2 separate regions of the Homo sapiens genome follow, and region 2 is linked to region 1. The links are contacts of gene promoters, found by promoter capture Hi-C in human tissues and cell types (Jung and others, 2019). All regions are on one chromosome and are shown on one strand. The core of a region is centred on a gene start or on the middle of the fragment in contact, and the rest is flanking DNA. Distances in the headings are between cores, read along the strand shown.

Region 1 (3,135 bases), core at 170-2,669:
ACTGCAGTGTCTCCCATCTGCAGAAAGAACCACTGAATCCACTTATGAATCCCTCCATCTTCTTCTGTGCACTCACATACACATGTCCTAGTAGAAAATACTTAGTATTGTTTTGTGTGTTTTTGTTCTTGTTATGTAAGCATCAGTGTTGTGCATAATCAGCTTGTGGCTTGCTGTGTCCGCTCATCCTCGTTTGCTGAGTCCTAGCTGATTTGATGGACACCAGGTTGTCTCCAGTTTCTCACTGTAATAAACAATGATGCAGTGAACATCCTGTGCACAGTGGCTTTCGAAGGTAGAAGCCAAGAAGTGGACGTGATGTAAAAACTTTGTCAAATTGCCATTACTTTTATAATTAAAAACAAACCTAAAAGAATATGTCCAAAATGCTTGGGGAGAAGCCTCTAACTCCTTCCCAGCAGATATGTACTCTGGGCAAAGCCTTCAAGAACAAGTACGAATTTGCCAAATGGACAACGTGCTGATTCTGGGATACTGTGGCAGAGGAGACAGAATGCTATCGCTTTTCAAACGGCAAGATTTTACATTTAAACTCACAGAGTTATCCACAAGGCAAGATTCTGTCTCTGTCATAGCTAGGAACAGCTGAAGAGTCTGCCTCTTGCTCCAACATGGCTGGGTACCGTGGCTGGATAACCGTTCCCGGTGCAGGTAACAGGTGGACAATATCACAATATCACTGCACCCCTCTCGTGAAAAAGAAAGGGAACACAGTCTAGCACTCACCAGAGAAGCAGGTTTTTCTTCATCTTCCAGAAATGTGTTCTAAAACACCAGAAAAAAACATCAGCCAATCATCGACCTGTTAACCTAACCCCAGCTCAAGAGATGGAACTCGGATCCCATTGCCAAGTCAGCACCGGCAGGCACAAAGGTGGCAGGGCCGGGAGACACCACTTTCCCGAGAGTCCTATCCCCACCCCCAACAGGGATCGGGAGAGAGCAGTTAGCACAGGGCTCGTCTCAGATGGGCTTCTCACCAGCGGGGTGCCCCTAACCTAGACCCCTTGCCTCTCCAAGCCTGTTTCCCTCTCTTTCCCAGTTACTACTTGGGGCTCTTTGCACGGTCTATGGTGGCACAAGAAGTGGGTTCGGAAACCCAGTAGCTGAATTGAAGCGGAGGGGAGGCTTTTCCGCACCTACGGCTACAGGGCGGCGAGAGCAGGCTTGCCAGGCAACCCTCGAAAGGCCTTCCGGGAAGAGGGGGAAGAGTGACGCTTGGGTGTGGGGGCACATCCCCAGCAACCGGACGAGGCCGCCACCCCCAAGGCCCTCCTGGGCTTCGGATCCCGCGCCAACCCCTCGCCCAGGTCTCGGAGCGAACTCTCCGCGCCAGGCGGGCGGGGCGGAGGGAGGAGGGAGTTGAGAGTGGACGGCCGGGAGTGGGAGGAAAAGCGCAGACGCCAGGAACGCCCCGTGAGTGAGGAGAGGAGAGCGTGGGAGTCACGCGGAGAAGCCAGACCCAGACGCCGACCGGGCACTGGTGGCGCTGCCGGGGTCCCGGGGGTTCCTGGACCCCCTACCCCAGGCCCCTCCAAAGCAACTGGGGTAAACCAGACGCACTGTGAGGCCAGCGCAGCTGCTGGACACGGTCCCCGGCGCCGCTCCAACCAGACCGCGACCGCTAAGCCCCTCCTTTCGAGAAACTCTGGGGCCGCCCCTGGAAGTGGCGGGGCGAAGGGACCGGAGGAGGGACCGGAGGAGCGAGGCGCGCGGCGCAGCGATGGAGCCGGTCAGCACGGGCGCGGAGGCCGGCATGGAGGGCGCGGGAGGTGACCCGTACCGGCGACCTGCGCGGCGCACGCAGTGGCTGCTGAGCGCCCTGGCGCACCACTACGGGCTGGACCGCGGCGTGGAGAACGAGATCGTGGTGCTGGCCACCGGCCTGGACCAGTACCTGCAGGAGGTCTTCCACCACCTGGACTGCCGCGGCGCCGGCCGTCTGCCCCGCGCCGACTTCCGAGCGCTCTGCGCTGTGCTGGGGCTGCGCGCGGAGGGGGCCACCACGGCCGGGCAGGCAGCAGGTGACGGGAACTCCAGAGATGTGACCCCCGGGGATGCGGCCGCTGAGTTGGCCACGGACGGGGACTCAGATACCGATGAAGAGGCGCGCCTGGCGCTGCGCGCCGAGCCGCCGGAGCTCACCTTCCGCCAGTTCCACGCGCGCCTCTGTGGCTACTTCGGCACCCGTGCGGGGCCCCGGCTGCCCCGCGGCGCTCTCAGCGAGCACATCGAGACGCAGATCCGCCTGCGCCGTCCGCGCCGCCGCCGCCGCCCGCCCTGCGCGCCTGGCCCCGACAGCGGTCCTGACTGTGAGCGCGTTGCGCGGCTGGAGGAGGAGAATAGCAGCTTGCGCGAGTTGGTGGAGGACCTGCGCGCCGCGCTGCAGAGCAGTGATGCGCGCTGCCTAGCACTGCAGGTGCGCGCCGGCCACGAAGGGAGGGTGGTAACGCCCGGGAGAGGGCTCGAACTAAAAGCTGGCTGGCTGCGGAGCCCGACAGGACAGAGTCAGAGGAAGGGGAGACAGAGGGCAGCCCCACACCATCCCACTCCGCATCAGCACACTTGCATCTTGCCCCTGTTCCTCCCCATTCCACTCCAGTCCCCAACCCTATTCTTACCACCTATTCCATTCCTGAAAACCCCAATCACACTCAAACAACCATACCCCACTTTTCTGCTCCACCGCCACATCATCGCGTCTTGCCCCTTTAACCTAGGAATTGCACCTGTCTGGGTAGTCTCACATATTCCCTTTCAACAAGCATCTTTCTCTCTCCTTCCTGCCAGGCTTCTGGGAGGTTTAGGAGACAGAAGTGTGAAGAAGGCCCTGTCCTCACCTTTAGGGATATCCCTGCCTCCTGGGGTAGACTGACAGCTCCTTCTGTCAATCAGCAAAGACTTATGGGGCTCCCTGTGGGAGAAACAGAGACAAGTGAGAAACAGACAATGTGGCTCACACTGTGGATCAGGCACTCACGGGCCACCAAGTGCCTGCGGGAACCAGACCCGCTCTGGGCTATTGAGAAGAAACCATGGGGTGAGATAGGGACCCAGCCTTAGCATCTGGGAGCCGTCGACAAACACTTAAGCACTGTGCCAGCCGAGCACCAA
Region 2 (3,036 bases), core at 187-2,686, 1.4 Mb before region 1:
GCAGTGGCCCTGAAATCAGGCTAGTGACCCCTGCTTCTGTTTTCTTGCAGCACCTTGATGGCATATGATTAGGACATGACAGAAGAGAAAGTGGCTAAGGTGGCAGGCTGACAGCGAATAGTCAGGCTGGTGTAGGAGGCAGCCCAGGGGACAGTGGCGTGCCCTACCCCCCTATTCTTGTCTGCTCTTGTGCCCCGGAGCCACAGGCTTCTGTCTAGGGGTTCTTGGGGAGAAGGAGGTGGATCACCTCTTGGGGGTTGGAGGAGTCAAAAGAACCTTGAGAGGGCATGCCTGGGTTGGGAGTCCTGCAGAGTCCAGATTGACTGTGCCAAGTGCTATCCTAACATGGCCATTAGGGACATTGAACTCCATGCAGCAGTAGCAGGGACTGCTGAAAACCATGCTGCAGACAGGCCAATCTCAGATCAAGTACAAGTACATCAATCAATGTATTCAACACCCAGTATGTGCCCAGCACTATGTTAGGGGTTGTGGGTTCTCATTTAACGTCCACTGAAAAATGTAAGTATATATTCTTACTTCCATTTAGCTGATAAGCAAACCTGAGGCTTAGGGAGTTTGAATTTACAGCCCAGCAAGTAAATGTAAGAATCAGGATTCAAACCCAAGTTATTAGACTCCAAAGCCTCTCTGCCCTGTCATGTCACCTCTCAGCACAGTGATTTTGCTGGAGACTAGCACTAATGTCATATTCTATGTGGTACTTATCACCATTTTTCCATAGATTTTTTTTTTTTTTTTAGATGAAGTCTCACTCTGTTGCCCAGGCTGGAGTACAATGGTGCAACAGTCTTGGCTCACTGCAACCTCCGCCTCCCAGGTTCAAGTGATTCTCCTGCCTCAGCCTCCCAAGTAGCTGGGATTACAGGGGTGCACCACTATGCCTAGCTAATTTTTGTATTTTTAGTGGAGACGGGGTTTCCCCATGTTGGCCAGGATGGTCTCAAACTCCTGACCTCGTGATCTGCCCGTCTCGGCCGCCCAAAGTGCTGGGATTGCAGACGTGAGCCACCACGCCTGGCTCCATAGAATTTTGAGTTAGCTCATTTGGACTTCACAACCATTCTGTGAGCTCAGCCAGGTGGCAGTTATTCTCTTTGCTTGACAAATGGTGAGCTGGGCCAAGGGAGGTTCAGACCTTTGCCCAAGGCCACACAGCTTGTGTGTGGCAGAGCCGAATCTGGAGTCGGTATCCCTGAGCACTGATGCCCTGGGCCTGGCTTCTTGCCAAGGGAGCACATTGATGACACATGTGAGACAGGAAACCAGTCCATTCTGTCACTAGGACTTTGTCATACATCCCATTTCTAGTGTGTTGGGCCTCAGGTAGAGCTGATGCCTTCCTTCTCCATCTGTAATGATGGTCCCCGGGCCCAGTGGGAAAAACAGCTGGTGGAGTTTCTGCTTGGTGGATAATGAGCAGTGTGACCTTGAGTGTGCTGCTTTTCTAATGTTGGCTTCAGTCTCTTCATCTGCAAAATGAGACCTGGGAATAATAGATTGAAGTCTTTGCAGCTTGAAAATATTATGATTCTGTGACATTTCAAGTGAAAAGAGCAACCTCAACAAAGCAGGGAAAAAAACATGGAATGCGAATTGCTGCTCCACCAGCTAGCATCAAGTGAAGTTACAGCCTGACCAGTTAATTCATGCACAATTGTTAATGATTAGGAGCAGTCTCTCAGGTTACCTACTCATTCGAGACTGTCCCCACTGACCCCTCTAGCCCTTTCATTTTCTAAGCTCCTTAAGGAAATTGTCTTGCATGCAGTTTTAATTTTCCTAGTGAGTGAGCAAATTAAAGTGTTCTGCAAGAAACACTTTAATCTTTGGGGTTGGCAAGTCCTAGATACCCAACTCAGACAGGCTCACGGGCCTGTCTGATAAAAGGGGACTTTATTGGCTGAAGAACGGGGGTCCAGGAACAGGCTTCCAGCTCCAGCACTCGGCGTGCCGCCCTCAACGTGCTGGAGCCTGCCCTGTCCCATCAGTCATGCTCGGCTTTCCCTTGCTGGCTTCGTTCTCAGGCAGGCTGGTCCTGGGCACCGGCTTGGAGAGCCCAGTAGCTCCACACTGTCGTCCCATCACTCAGCACCCCGCAGAAAGGGAGCTCTGCCTTCCCAGCACTTCAGGAACAGTCACTGGATGGTCTCCCTGAGTCCCAAGCTTGGGGATGGAATTTGACTGTCCAGGCCCATGTTGAGCTGTCCCTGAAGCCAGGGGACATTCCAGACCAAAAAGAGAGGAGGAATGTCCCCCAGAGTAGAATTGAGGTGCTATTAACAGAAAGAGAGCATGAGACAACAGTACTGTGCTTGAGTAGGGAACACTCATAAAGTGCCTATACTTCATATGTCATTTTCACTTGGATTTTTTTTTAACCTCACAGCAACCTGATGAAATCTGTAAAAGCAGGCATGATTAGATCACTGTTTTACAGCTAAAGAAGCTGGCTGACAGAGATTTAAAAGTGGCTCTAAATGACATAGTGGCAGAGCTAAATCTCAAATCTGAGAGTTCTACTTCAAGATCTGCTGCTCCCCTCAATACAAAGTCCTTCATTAGGCTACTTTAATTATCATTGCCGTAATCAATTTTGGAGAAAGCAGACCGACCGAGCAGCTGTCTGCTGGGACCTGGAGCTGGTTCCTGTACAGCGAAGCCTTGTTGTGATTGTGTCTGCTGTAGAATGATTTGACCTTCTGGGTCATTGCCCACACATCAGGTGTATCCATGTCCTTAGGATGGGCCGATAGCTGTGGAGCCTGTGGACAGAGCAACAAAGAGAGCACTTTTACTTAGACACCAAAACAAAAGCCTTGTCATTCTTGTTCTGTGCTAGTAATAAATATCAACATATAAAAATTTAAAACAGCAATTAAAAGAAGAAAATAAAAATCACCTATAATCCAGTGATTCAGTCAGTGAATGTTAACGTTTTGGACTATCTCTTTCTGGACTTTTTTTTTTTTTTGAGACAGTCTCACTCTTTGCCCAGGCTGGAGTGCAGTGGTG

Evidence for each region. The method cuts DNA at HindIII sites, captures the fragments that hold promoters and counts their contacts. A contact is called where the count stands out against the background at its distance.
Region 2: a contact is called between a fragment that was not itself captured here and the fragment with the promoter of EFCC1 in region 1, in 1 of the 25 tissues and cell types used here (stomach).

What each region holds. Positions count from the first base shown.
Region 1 is chr3:128,999,885-129,003,019 of GRCh38, forward strand. It overlaps EFCC1 (EF-hand and coiled-coil domain containing 1), which reads left to right and starts at 1,420. Exons shown (of 8, transcript NM_001377500.1): 1 at 1,420-2,440. The coding sequence starts at 1,745. It also overlaps a transcript of CFAP92 not described here. The HindIII fragment of the contact is 14,506 bases long and covers 1-3,135 here.
Region 2 is chr3:127,645,642-127,648,677 of GRCh38, forward strand. The region is part of intron 2 of PODXL2 (podocalyxin like 2); the gene reads left to right. Among named protein-coding and RNA genes, the nearest start is that of PODXL2, 18 kb to the left of the region's middle. The HindIII fragment of the contact is 3,125 bases long and covers 1-2,999 here.